Regions from separate parts of the Homo sapiens genome. Here region 2 is linked to region 1. The links are contacts of gene promoters, found by promoter capture Hi-C in human tissues and cell types (Jung and others, 2019). All regions are on one chromosome and are shown on one strand. The core of a region is centred on a gene start or on the middle of the fragment in contact, and the rest is flanking DNA. Distances in the headings are between cores, read along the strand shown. Region 1 holds the start of ALDH3A1 (aldehyde dehydrogenase 3 family member A1). Region 2 has its middle 34 kb from the start of ALDH3A2.

Region 1 (7,225 bases), core at 2,637-5,136:
AATAAAATAAAATAAAAATAAAAGTGCAGGAGCAAAGAGGGTAGTCGGTGGGAGGATGGGCTCCGGAGCGCTGGACCCCAGGCAGCATGTGGGGACAGCAGGGGGCTGCGAATGCAGAGGTGTCTGGTCTTGCTCAGGGTGAGGGACGGAACAGCCCCTGTGAGAACTGGGAGGGAGGGGAGAGCCCCCCATGCCCTCCGGGGTGCCAAGCTGCTCTGGTTCCTGGTGTGGAGAACCAAGTGGTCCTGCGTGGGGCTGAGGAATGGGGAGGACCAGAAGTTCAGGGTGTCGGGGCAGCAGGAAGTTGAAATGGGGGACGCTGCGGGCGGGACGCGGAGGCCGGGCCAGGAGGAAAAGGCCAGAGGGCGGAAGAGGCGGCGGGGGCGCGCGGGGCGCGGCGGAGGGGAGGGCGGTGCGCCCAGTCTCCGCGACCGAGGGGCCAGGTGGCCCCAAGTCCTTCCTGAACCTCTCTGGGTCGCACTCTCCCCAGCCCCTCCCCCCACGCCCCATCGCATGGCCCCGACACTGGCAGAAGGCGGCCGCCCAGCCTGAGCACCTTGTGCAGGTCTGCGGCCAGCGCGCCCACCAGCTCCTGCTCCTGCTCCTGGATCAGGCGCTGCAGCGCCTCCAGCTGCTGGATCCGGAACTGCAGCGGACGGGTCCTGCCCGAGCTGAAGGCGGCGCGGGCGCGCTTCACGGCCTCGCTGATCTTGCTCATGGCGCCTGGGGACAGAGAGCACCTGCAGCTGGCTGAGGGGCACGAGCGCGCCCTGCCTCCCACCCTGCCTGAATTCTATAGGAAGGGACTTCCCTGGGCTCGGCCTTGGGGAAAATGGCCTTTCCGCTGGAAGGTCCACTTTCTGCCTCGCCTCCTCTCCCGCCCCTCACTCAGACGCCTGGGCCCTGGCTGCCTTGCTAGCCCCTGAGAAGGTGACACCCGCCGCAACCCGAGTCCTAAGCCGAACTGCTGCTGGGGGCTCTTGGCAGCGTGCTCGCGGCAGGGCCTTTCCCGGCCTTTTCCGCTCCCTTACTTGCTTGCAAAGCTGATGGCACAATCCCAGACCAACACCCCCAGAGCTCTGCACACGCAGTCAGCCACTCTCCAGATCAGATTGGAGGGGCGCAGTCCGCGATTCCACACCCAAGCCGATAAAGAAAAACCCAGCACCACCCTCCTGGCTAAGCCATTGTTCTAAAAAGCGCTGGTTTCTTGGCAGAGCTGAACCAGGCTTGGTGTGTAAACCACGCGTGCCACACCTGGGAGACGCACGCCCATGCCCGCCAAGGATTCAGAGAGCTGCAGATTTCCACAAAGAGGTGTGGAGGCGATTCCTGCTACCAATACACGAAAGTATAGTGGCAAATCGGGATGGCCCTGCTGGGGGCAATTTGGCAATATGTGGCAAAAGTTTTTCAAACATACTTCTCTGTGACGAAAAGGTCCTACAGCCTTTCCTAAACATTCACGAATAAGAAAGTCATCACTGTTTTCTATAACAGGGAAGTATTGTAAACATCCCAAAGATCCGAAAGAAAGGAGACAGTTTAAATGACTCCTGTCACACCCACGTAAGGGTTTACTGTGCAGTATTTAGGGATTAGGTGGAGCAGGCTATTCAGCATGTTTGTAGGGGCTCTCTCTGCACCAGGGGTGTCTCAGGCACTGGGGATAAGAAAGAAAACAGGTTACAGGCCGGGCGCGGTGGCTCACGCCTATAATCCTAGCAAACACTTTGGGAGGCTGAGGTGGGCGGGTCACCTGAGGTCAGAAGTTCAAAACCAGCCTGGCCAACATGGTGAAACCCTGTCTCTACTAAAAATACAAAAATTATCTGGGAGTGGTGGCAGGCACCTGTAGTCCCAGCTACTTGGGAGGCTGAGGCAGGAGAATTGCTTGAACCAAGCTGAGAGGAGGAGGTTGCAGTGGGCCGAGATTGGGCCATTGCACTCCAGCACTTTGACCGGGAGAATGGAGCCATAATCACAGAGTTCTCCTATTAGATTAGTGGTAGGAGGTAAGGCAAGGTTAGTGAGATTTGCTAGAAGTCAAGAGGCTGTCAGTGGAAGCGGTATTTGAAGGCCTCGGGTAAGTAATATAATTACTTTCAGCGAGACTCCATCTAAAAAAAGAAAAAGAAAGAAAGAAAGAAAGAAAAACAGAAAACAAGTTACAGAACAACAGATGTACCAGGCGTGTGCATGTGTGTGTGTGCGTGTGTGTGTGTGCGTGTGCGTGTGTGTGCATGTGTGTGTGTGCGTGTGTGTGCATGTGCGTGTGTGTGTGCGTGCGTGTGTGTGCATGTGCGTGTGTGTGCGCGCGTGTGCGTGTGTGTGTGGGCGTGCACGCTCTAACATGCAAGAAAGGACTAGAACGGTAGCCCCCGACACGATGAGACAACTGATGGGGGTGGAATTATTGATGATCTGTTTTCCTCTTATGCAATGTTTGACTTTTTGCAATGAGCTTGTATTTTTTAAATTTTGGTGCGTTTTAAGATAGGCACTACATGCTCATGAAACAAAATGTAAAATATAGCAAAGGGGCACAGAAAAAAGTCTGCCTCCCTCCTCCCTGCTCCATCAGCTGTCAGGTGCTGCCCCACAGAGGGGCCACTGTTACCAGTTCCTTACTCCCCTTCCTGAGATACTCAGCCCACTTGCAGACCCGGCATAACTTTTAACATCAGCAGAAATAGGGTATTTCCATTTTTTTAAAAAACCCTATATATCATATGTAATATATAATTATATTGTATATAGATATATGGTCCTGCCTACATTCCAGCGAGTGGCTTCCAATCCTTCCTCTGCCTCCCCTCCCCATAGGCTGACCCCTAATCCCAGGCTTTCTGCACAGGGAGGAGGGACCTGCTGGCATTGAGGGTGCTCTAAGCCTGGCCCTTCCATGGTCCCTCCCTATGTTCTGATAGGAGGCTGGGAAAGCCCCCTCACTGGGACCTCCTCAGTCCCATGGGCCAGGCCCCTCCTGCTGACCACAACCCAGGAGAGAAGGTCCCGCTTCTCTCCCGAGCCTTGTACGGTCAAACCAAGGCAGGCAGCCCAGGTGGGAAGAGCCTGGTGAGCGTGGGACGGGATTGGCCTTGCACCCCAGCATCGCCACTTGGAACTGTGGTCTCTGGGCTGGACGGCCTTCCCAGGACTTCCCCGAGAGACAGGTTAACAAAGGTGCCACTTCACAGAGATGAGTGGACACCATCACGTCGCAGCTGCACCCAAATGGGAGCTGCTGCAGCATGCACTGGGGGCCTCCCCAGAGCCCGTCGCCTCACACCCCACATTCCTGCACCCCGCTCCTCTCACCTGTGCCAGTGTTGACTTTGCCCCCCAGTGACACCTCCTCCCCTCCTCATTGCCTTCCATCCTCACAAAAGCTCTGTAGTGATGCCCATGAAGAAGAAACGGTTATGAGTGCATTTTACAGATGAGGAAAGGGAGACTGAGAAACGTTTAATGCTGTATCTGATCTCACAGTTAGCAGGTGGCATGTCAGGGTTTGAACCCACATGCATCTCTGTCAGCAGCTCATGCCTTTAGCACTCGGCTCTGCTGCCTTCCTTCCAGTCATGGAGTCTGACGGCCCATCAGGGCCTCTCACTCCACGGCCACCTTGGTGTCCCTGCTCCGCGGATCCCTGGGACCTCTGCCTCCTGGTTTGGGGGATGGCAGAGCTGCCAGAGGTCCAGGAGGATGCTCCAGAGATGATGGTCCCAGAGGCAGGGACCCCCTGGAGAGATGATGTAGGACTCTTGACACTTAGGGCCCCGGCTCTGAGTGCAGACTCCACCTAGACAAGAGAAAAAATAAGGAATGCAGGGAAGAGGATTACCTTTGACACAGCCTCTCCCGGTAACTGGGGCTCCTGGAACGGCAAGAGCCAAGAGGGGACGTATTTAAGGACCCTGCTTCCCGTCCATTGAGCCCTTGGAGTTCCTGCCCAGGAAGTTTGCGTGACAAGAAAAAAAAATATTCAAATGTGGGGTGTGGCGTCCTCTGGACCTCTGCTCCCTACAGCCCAGGTTTTGGGGATTAGGTCCCGGGCTGTTTGCTTTTGTTCACTTCTGAAATGCGAGAATGTTTCTGAAGGCTTGGGCAGGGCACATCTCCAATCTTCAAAAGAGCCTATGTTTGCCCTGGGCGTGGGGGCTGCTGATTGATTCAGCCTGGCATGGAGCTCTTCCAGCTTTCCAGACTTGCCGCTGCCAGATGCGGTTCTCTGAGTTCTCTGGTTACATAAGATCGGCAGGGCTCAGCCACGAACCACAGTGAGAGCATGCAGCTCCCCCGAAACGCACCCCCAGCCACCGCTGCCCCGGGCCCTTCACATCCCCCAGTGTGCACAGGGCCCCATTGAGTCAGAGATCCTAACCCTGGGGAGCCACAGGCTGGGGACTTTTGATGGGGGTCTCCAATCCATAAATCTGCTCTCTCGTTGAATAGCTGAGAAGAGGGCCAAGGGTCTGTGTGGTCACCGAAAACCAGAGATGCTTGGGAAGGAAGGAGTCTGGAAAAGCCGTTCCCACGCTGTCTGATCAATGTTCGCTGGGCTCCTGCTCTGCACCACGCTGTGGGGAGGAGGCAGGTGTGGAACAGACTCTCGGCCCCTCTCACCAGGCGCTTCCCGCCACCCTCACCCGCCTGCAGGCAGACTGCTTACCAGCATGGGGTCCCTGCTTCCCATTTCATTCGAGGAAAACACAAGGTTCCGGTCCTGGCCTACGAGTCCTGAGGATGTGCTCTGGCCCTCCTGCTTCTCTCCACCTGGAGCCCCCTTCCCCTACATCCACCCACACGGCTACGCTCCAATGTGCTGTGGAAAATAGCACAATGCTGTCGTCTTCCTCCATTATTTTTTCTCTGGAGCGTTTATATCTTGTTTGCTACCTGTCCCTTAACTCCTGACAGCTAGAATTTGATTTGTTCACTGCTGTAACCTCCATACAGCATTTATAGTAGATGCTCAATAAATATTTATTGACTGACAAAATAAACAGGAAATTTCAAAATAATGTGAACACTGTAGTAACCAGGTAGGCAGAGGATGCTAGAGGGGCTGGGGTGAGAGTCCGTGGGAGGGAACATCATCTGAGCTGAGTGAGAAGCATTTGGGCAAGGAACAGCAAGGGGGCTGGAAGAGCAGAAGCAAAGGCACAGAGGCTGGGAACGTTATGTCACGAAAAAGTGCGATGTGTCCACTGTTGCCAGCAGGAGGTGTGGAGGTGAATGACTCTCCTGGGGCGGGGGCTCACGGAGGCCTGTGGGCCAGGCTGGCTGTGGGGGTGCAGGGCGCTGAGGAGATTATCAGACAGACAAATGTCTGCTATTTTTTGTTTTAGAGAACCCCCTGGACAGGGCACAGTGTGAGAAAGGTCTAGCCCAAAGGCTGCAGCTTCCAGCAATGCAGGCAAGAAATGACGAGACCCCCAAATAAGACTAACAGAATGGGAAACATTCCAGAAACAGCAGAAAGAAGCATCTGCAGGACCTCGCACCTGTGCAGGGGCTGGACTGGGTGGTAGGTGCAAAGTGGGGTGCCTCCTGAGAGGGGAGAAGACCGAGCCTGTGCCAGCCTCTCCCCTTTTCTGGTGGCAGCAGCTGATTATCTTTGCAGGCAACCCCTTCCTACTTGGTGAGATGATCAACCAGGTGCCTTCTCCAGGCCAGCCATGGGTTGGGGTGGGCTCCCCATGAGGCCTCCCTGACTCTCCTGGGAATTTGGATCTTGAGTAGAGGGCAGAATGCAAGGCCGAAGGCCATTCGGAGCTGACTTCTTGTGGCAGCGGCCCTCCCCTGGGAGAACCATGGAAGCAACTAGCAAAAGCCAGCAACACAGCATTGAGTACACGAAGTGACCAGAACAGTGCCTGGCGGGCCGAGGGCATCCTGGAAAGGTTAGGTGGTGTGGGTGTCATCAAAAGTGGCAGCAGTAGTGGTGGAAGCGTCAGAGCAAGGAGCCTAAAAGCAGTTCAAATCTACGAAGAACAAAATCCTTGTTTGCGTGTTTGGGTTTTGGTTATAGTTTCAGTAGTGGCAAAAGTGTGGGAGTGTGGGTTGTGCTAGAAACTTGCAGATACTTGCTTTTCAGATTTTCTTTTTTCTTTTTTTTTTTTTTTTTTTGAGACAGGGTGTTGCTCTGTTGCCCAGGCTGGAGTGCAGTGGTGCCATCACGGCTCACTGCAGCTTTGAATTCCGGTGCTCAAGCGATCCTCCCACCTTGTGACTACAGGAACCCACCACCATGCCTGGCTAATTTTTAAATGTTTTGTAGAGATGGGTCTCATTATGTTGCCCAGGCTGGTCTCAAACTCCTGGGCTCAATTCATCTTCCCGCCTCAGCCTCCCAAAGTGCTGGGATTGCAAGCATGAGTTAATCTTTGCAAGTCCTAATACTCCATCCCCAATGCCTCATCCTCACCTGGGCTGTCACTCACTCTCTCTCTCCCAGGCCACTGTTCTTGCCCTCTACCTACTCTCCTTGAGTCAGGCTCAGCTGCCTTCTCCAAGTGGCTGCCAGAGAGACATGCGGACGATAAGGACCTGAGCATGTCTCTCCCCTGATTCACATCCTTGGGTGGCACCCCCTTGCTGTCAGGAAGCTTCCTCCCATGGCCTGTGAGCCCCTGCCTGGCCTGGCTCCTGGCTGCCTTGCCAGCCTCACTTCGCACCACTTCCCACCATTCTCACTGCACTCCAGTCTGCTGGCATTCCTTGACTTAACCAGGCAATTTCCTACCACAAGGCCTTTGCACATGCTGTTCTTGCTCCCTGGGACACTTTTTCTTCCACTCTGCACCAGACTAACTCTTATCCATGTTCAGATCTCAGCTTCCCTGACCTCTCTCACCTCTCAAATAAAACCTTCCTTACTTCCAGGAACCTGTCACAACCTGCGTTCATATCTTTGTTTGTGTGACTATGTCTCTCCTTATTCCCCCTTGGACTGGAATGTCCACAAAGGCAGAGATCTCAACTTTTGTTCAGCACCATATCCTGGCACAAGGGAGACCTCTGAAGATACGGAAGCAGCCCACTACACCTAACCATCCCTCTGATGGAAAAGCAATCATTTAGCAAGACGATTTTCAGCAAATTCACCCAAAGCTAGCAAAAAAAGTGTTGAATGAATGAATGAATGAATGAATAGCGAGTTTGCTTAAATTTCAAGGAACATTTAGATTAGATATAGTTGTTGGGAGGGGAAACCACT
Region 2 (7,225 bases), core at 2,536-5,035, 130 kb before region 1:
ACCCGGTAACGGTTGGCTTCCTGTTGGAAAGATGAGAAATCAGCTCACTTTACGTGCCATCTCCCTCTTCCTTGTGGTTTTTGTTTTTCTGTTTATAGTTCTCTTAGTGGTCAAATTGTTTATAACCTTAAATAATAAGCATAGACCTCTATTTCTTGGTCCAACAACTTTATAGACCCTGTGACCTGACCCCTAAGTTGTAAGATGAGGAACATGGGGTCCTTTTGTTTCTTTCCGTCTCTCTTCCCATTTGCCTCCCAAATTCCAGAATTCCATATGCTGCTTAATAGCCACCCACATGCCATGAGCCAGGCACTATGCGAAACACTTCACAAATGGGACTCACAAGCTCCTCATTGCAATGCCATGTGAGGGATTTACTGTTCTTTCCCCTGCATCACAGATGAGGAAACTAAGGCCCAGAGAGTATCATTCGTCCAAGTTCAAGGAAGTAACTGGCTAGGATTTGAGCCCAGGGACTTGGCTCCAGAGGTCATGGTCATGGTCTTAATCACAGCTACCTCTCAGCTATATCACTGTTTTTATTTTGTGAAGCTTACGACATTTGAATTGTATTATCTAATGGTTATCATGTCTTTCATGTGTTAGGGGTTGTCTGAAAAAAATAAACATTCATAATATTATGATTTTTGTAAATATGATTATTTGCAGATCCAAATGTGGTCTTGCATCAGACGAGAAGGAAATGCAAATCCAGTAGCCACCAACACTACCACTTGAAAGAGGCTTTTACAAGTGAAAGATGAAATGCATTATTTTTTCTTGCTTTTGTCATTTGGTCAAAATCATGTCATATTTTGTTTCATATTTAGGCCATGACTTTTCTTGTGCAGCTCATTTGTTTTTTCTGGCATTTCTAACAGCCTTTATTTCTTATTGATGGAGCAGCATGGCCCCTCATCTCGTTACTAAGATGATCCAGTGTGTAAACATACTGTTAAGTATGAGTGCATTTTTTTCTTGAATGCCTCAGGGCCCTTTGATTCCTTGTTTTAATTTGTATCCAGGCTGGGCGCGGTGGCTCATGCCTGTAATCCCAGCACTTTGGGAGGCCAAGGCAGCCAGATCACCTGAGGTCAGGAGTTCGAGACCAGCCTGGCCAACATGGCAAAACCTCATCTCTACTAAAAATAGCTGGGAGTGGTGGCAGGCTCCTGTAGTCCCACCTACTCAGGAGGCTGAAGCAGGAGAGTCACTCGAACCTGGGAGGCGGAGGTTGCAGTGAGCTGAAATCACACCACTGCACTCCAGCCTGGGTGACGGAAGAAGACTCTTGTCTCAAAAAAAAAAAAAAAGGAATAATTAATTTGTATCCATTGATTTCTAGACTTTTTTCTAGCTTGCTGCACAGCTGTCATTCCAGAATTTCTCTCATTGTCCTCCTGAATTAAGCCTACAATTTCTTTGATCCCATTTCTTCCTCTTTCTTAGATTTCTTTAATTTTTTTTCTTCTGATCTAGCAGCAGCCAAATGAAAATTTAAAAAAATTTGTTCTGGAGTACTTAGTCAAAAACTTGTTCTAAGATTATATGGAAAGTAAATCATATGCCATGCATATTCGAGAGTCTTTATTTTCCTCTTATACTTGTTTAATAATTTGGCTGAGTATAGGATTGTAGGTTCAAAATAACTTCCCTCTGAATTTTGAGGACATTGCTGTGTCTCAGTCTGGTATTCAGAGTTACTGATGTGAAGTCTGCTCAGAATCTGTTTCTTGTTCCTTTGTAGGCAGCATGATTTTTCTCTTTGAAAGTTTTAACGTTTATTTCTTTATCTTTATAGTTCTGAAATCTCACAAGAGTGCATTTCTCTGAGGATACTTTTTAACTTCTGCTTAGCACTTGGTATACCCTTTCAGTCTGAAGACCTGTGTTTTTCTTCAACTCTGGGAAATTTAAAAAATATTCTTTCCCTCTTTTCTGTAAATTTTTTTCTGTTCTTTCTTTTTAAATTTCTTATTAGGTGGAGGTTGACCTTGGGAATTAATCTTCTTGGCTTTGGCTTTTTTTTTTCTATTAAAAAATATCTCTTTGTCTTTTTGTTTATCTTCTTTGCTGCTTTTTTTTTTAGTTTCATTTTTAATTTCTAAGAACATCTTTTTTTTGTCTTATAGTCTCTTTTATGGGAACCTGTTCTTGTTTTATGCTGCATTACCTTTTAAATATCCCTGTGGATGCTAAATCGGAACTTTAAACGTTCTTCTGTGTTCCTTGAGTCATCTATTTTCTCTGAGATCAGTTGACCTTTTACTTATCTTTATCTGTTTTGGGGATGTGTGCTTCAGTCTTCCTCAAAGCTCTGGTGATCTTACTAGTCTGTTTATACTTAGGAATGAATGAGTACATTGATTTATCAAACAAATGGCCGGCATAGCTTTCCTCTCCTATTATTTGGAGATTTTTCTCCAACAGGCCTCTCCCCAAAATGGGAAGGACCAGTGGGGAACTCGGTACCAAGGTGGTACCTGTCCAGTGACATCTTCATTTTAGGACTTATGGGTGAGGATTAGGCAGTAGGCAGCCTGACCTCCTGCCCCACCTTATCCCCATGTCCCACCTATCCCCCAAAACAAAAGAAGAAGGGCCTGACTCACGCCACGGAGGAAGCTCCACACTTGGCTTTTCTGTGTCAGCCCAGCTTCTTGTGTGCAGTAAGGCTAAGGACGGGCAGGTCGCGGGGCTTGGGTGTCCTGTCCCAGCCCTGTGGCGCATCTCCCTGACTGCTCTTCTTCACAGCCTCGGTGGGGGGAAGCAGGGCGTCAGTGCTCCTGGAGCTCTACTGGGAAGACGGAGTGTGAGGCAGCATTCTGTTCATGTTCTGTGCTGTGGCTTCCTGCGTTTCTGCCCTTGGATCATGGCTGTGGAGCCTGCTTTCCCTCTTCCAGAAGCTGACCGGCTCTCATTCTCAGTGTTGTTAATGAATTTATTTTCTATTAAGCATGGAGATTTATTTTCCATTAACAGTGTTTTGGGAGGGAAGGGAGTTAGGCATGTGATTCATTCATTTTGAACTGGAAGCCAGTTATGTGTACTTTAGGCATGCAAATCTTAAGAGATGTTTATATACTCATACTCAGGTCTGTTTTTTTTTTTAAGTTCTTTTTTTTTTTTTTTTTTTTGAGATGGAGTCTCACTCTGTAGCCCAAGCTGGAGTGCAGTGGCACAATCTTCGCTCACTGAAACTTCCGCCTTCCGAGCTCAAGCGATTCTCATGCCTCAGCCTCCCGAGTAGCTGGGACTACAGGCGCGTGCCACCATGCGTGGCTAGTTTTTTGTATTTTAGTAGAGACAGGGTTTCACCATGTTGCCCAGGGTGGTCTCGAACTCCTGAGCTCAGGCGATCTGTCAGCCTTGGCACCCCAAAGTGCTAGAATTACAGGCATGAGCCACCGCGCCTGGCCTCAAGTTCTTAATCTTAACAATTTAATATATATTTTTATCAACTGAACTTAGGCTAGTTTTCAAAACAGTAATGAATTAGAAGGCTTTTGGGAGGATGCTGTTTCTAGTAGGAATGAGAAGTTAGAGCTGATGTACGAGTGATTAAAAGTGAACTTGAGAGCCCAAAGCTAAGTTGTCTGTACAACCCACGTTACCCTCGCAGCCCCTGGGGGCAGCATTGTATTGCAGGATCATGATAGGGGTCAAGAAGGTGGCCCCAAAGGTTGAGTGGTGGTCTATTTAAGAAGCAAATAAGCTTATAGCTTTAGATTTTCATAATCAATGATTAAAATTAAGCCTTTGCATTTGAAGGGGCCTCTTTCAATTTACCGGATAATCAGACATATGGAATGTTTCACCCATCCCACCAAAAACGAGGTATTGTCGTGGAGTCAGATTTCATCAATGTCTGGGGTTCCTACAGTGTGCCAGGCGCGGTTCTAAATGCTTTTTCACATGGGTCATTTAATTTTTACAAATTATTTGTATACTAACGTTTATACTAAGTTAAATCTTACTTTGTATAATGTAGCTAAGTTGAATTGTCTTGATAGTGTGTGTGTAGCCAATAAAGGGGGTGTGTTGCCCTCAAATCCAGCTTCATTACGAGGTTCTGCTGTGATGAATGTGGTACAGGGAGCCGTCAGGGCAACTGTCATGCTTCCTTACCTGCAAAGAAATCGGATGTCACATGGCTAAGCAATTTGTCCACAGTCACACAGCTAGGATGTAAGAGAGCCAGTTCTAGAACTCAGCTCTCCGGGTCTGTCCTGTTTCCATTTAGTTAGACGCTAGTGCACTAATACTCCAATGTTCAGGCTTTACGACTGTGATTTATGCTTCTTAATTCTCAGGTACCCCTGGGCCTTGGAGTTGCAGCCAGCATCCGAGTGGGCAATGCTCTGGGGGAAGGGAATGTAGAGGAGGCTTGGTGCTCCTGCACCACAGTTCTCCTGTGTGCTGGTGAGTCAAGCATTCTACTCCCTGGCATCTGTGCTGAACTTAGTGTGCTAAGTTAAAATCTATGTATCAGAATTTCTCTAGGAATTGAATCATATATATATATTCAACTAAAACATCTATTCTTTATGCTCTTTCAAATTTACAAAGTTAAATAAAGCTTTTAATTATGATTTTCTGTTAATGATAAACCAACTAAATAATGTTACACTTGGTTCTACTGAAATAATTCTAAAGACCAGGTTCAAGCAATTCTCTTGCCTCAGTCTCCCAAGTAGCTGGGATTACAGGCACGTGCCACCACACCCAGCTAATTTTTGCATTTTTAGTAGAGATGGGGTTTCACCATGTTGGCCAGGCTGGTCTTGAACTCCTGACCTCAGGTGATCTGCCTGCCTCGGCCTCCCAAAGTGCTGAGATTATAGATGTGAGCCACCACGCCTGGCCCAGTTTTATTATTTTCAAGTGTGCTTTCCTAGTGTCATCTGACCTCACTGATTTTAGACCAATGCCTAAACGTATTCTTATAAAATCTCAGGACCAAGGAGGTGATCAGATGGAGTAATAGGGACTGGATTTACCTTTCTGCTTTAAACAACTAAAAACTGGCCAACACATACATATAATATGTATATATATGTATGTATATATAATATATAATATGTATATATTATGTATGTATATATAATATATAATATGTATATATTATGTATGTATATATAATATATAATATGTATATATTATATATGTATGTATATATGTATAAATGTATATGTATATATGTACATTATATATATATATATTAAAATATATATATATATTTTAAAATAGTTTTCAATCCCTTGAGGCCAGGAGTTTGAGACCAGCATGGGCAACATAGCAAGACCCATCTCTACAAAAACTACAAAAATTGCCTAGATGTGGTGGCACATGCTTGTAGTCCCAGCTCTGTGGGAGGATCACCTAAGCCCAGGAAGTTGGGGCTGCAGTGAGCCATGATTATGCTACTGCACTCTAGCCTGGGTGACAGAGCAAGGCCTTATCTTAAAAAAGAAAAAAGTTTTCAGACATTGGACAACAGGCAGCCCAAAGAGGGGAAAAAAATGAGAGAACACTATGATTACCCAGTGTACTAGGGGAGAGTTTCCAGGCCATAGCACAGGAAGAGGGAAAGCCCTGCTATCTCTGTGAGATGAAGAAATGGAGTTGGGAGTTTTGGGAGGCCATGTGACTTGAGTTCACAAGGCAGGGGACCAGAGAGGAGAGAGTTTGAGAGGGAGTGCTTTCAAGATCTTGGCTGGGCACAGTGGCTCACGCCTGTAATCCCAGCACTTTGGGAGGCTGAGGTGGGTGGATCAACTGAGGTCAGGAGTTTGAGACCAGCCTGGCCAATATGGTGAAACCCTATCTCTACTAAAAATACAAAATTAGCCAGGCATAGTGGCACACACCTGTAATGCCAGCTACTTGGGAGGCTGAGGCAGGAGAATTGCTTGAACCCAGGAGGCAGAGGTTGCAGTGAGCTGAGATCACACCACTGCACTCCAGCCTGGGCCACAAACTGAGACTCCATCTCAAAAAAAAAAAAAAATCCACAGAGGGGCTCTCTCAAGTCTAGCTGACTACCAAACTGGATGTGCATGTGAGGATGCTACTGGAAGCCAGCGGGACACACCTGAAAGGAGCAGACAAAACAATCCCTGGAGTTCATAAGGGCTGGGAAGAGTTTGTGTTCCCAACATCCAGAATGAAACAACCTCGTAATACATAAGACAGCTGGTGGAGTTCTCAGGAGGGTTTTGCCTGGGTAGTAGAGGAATATTAGCCCTAAAAATAAAGAGTGTTCTGGTCCTGCTTAACAAAGCTTAAAAGCAAACCTCAAGAAGGTCAAACTGCTTCTAGGAAGCAACTGCATCACAGAACTTAACTGTATCAAAGCTCAAGAGCATTTAAAATAGTACAAGAATATGTAGTAACCAACAAAGTAAAAATCACAATGTCTGCCAATTAATAATTACCAGGCATACAAAGAAATAATAAACTAAAATCCATAATAAAGAGAAACATCAATCAATAGAAACTGACCCAGAAATGAACAGATAAAATTACTACTCAGGAATACTAAAATGGTTTCTATAATTTTGTTTAATCTTTAAGAAAATAGAGAATAACATGAGCATGCTAAAGTGAGATATCAAATTTATGAAAAGAAAAGCAAATTGAATTGCAAGAGATGAAACAAAAAAATCTGAGGTGGAAATACATTGGTTGACATTAACAGCAGATTAGACACTGTAGAAGAAAAGATTAGTGAATTTAAAGATACAGCAATGGTAAATATCCTAAATAAAATGTAGAGAGAAAAAAGACTGAAAAAAATGAAAATGAGCAAGTTGTAAGTGGCCTAAAAGCACATAATCGTACGTAGTTCCCAAAGCGGAGGAGAGGGAAGAGGGGCAGGATACTTTTTTTTTAAAGAAATAATGGCAAAAAACTTTCCACATTTGATAAAATCTTCAGATTAAAGGTCTAAAAGGGTATTTATTTGATGTAATCACTGATCTGACCTTGGGATTCCTCTAGAACATCCTGGCCAAGCTGTCGTTTATACTTAATTAACTCACTGATGAGGAACTTGCTACCTCCCAATGCAGCTTGATTCTCAGAACACTTTTCTTTTGAACTGAAACCTACCTTTCCTACCCATAACTTTCACCCACTGATACTAGCTGTTGGGCTTATGATTCTGTAGGAGAGTCTGTCCATTTTTCAGTTACTGCCCTATGGGTGTTTTTATGATGGC

What was found. Contacts are between HindIII fragments. The study calls those that stand out against the background at their distance.
Region 2: a fragment that was not itself captured here is called in contact with the fragment with the promoter of ALDH3A1 in region 1 in 9 of the 25 tissues and cell types used here (adrenal gland, aorta, heart left ventricle and 6 more).

What each region holds. Positions count from the first base shown.
Region 1 is chr17:19,744,412-19,751,636 of GRCh38, forward strand. It overlaps ALDH3A1 (aldehyde dehydrogenase 3 family member A1), which reads right to left and starts at 3,887. Exons shown (of 11, transcript NM_000691.5): 1 at 3,848-3,887; 2 at 557-723. The coding sequence starts at 718. RefSeq lists a silencer at 477-536 and enhancers at 596-1,563, 5,844-6,123. The HindIII fragment of the contact is 25,713 bases long and covers 1-7,225 here.
Region 2 is chr17:19,611,472-19,618,696 of GRCh38, forward strand. No RefSeq gene overlaps it. Among named protein-coding and RNA genes, the nearest start is that of ALDH3A2, 34 kb to the right of the region's middle. The HindIII fragment of the contact is 3,298 bases long and covers 2,137-5,434 here.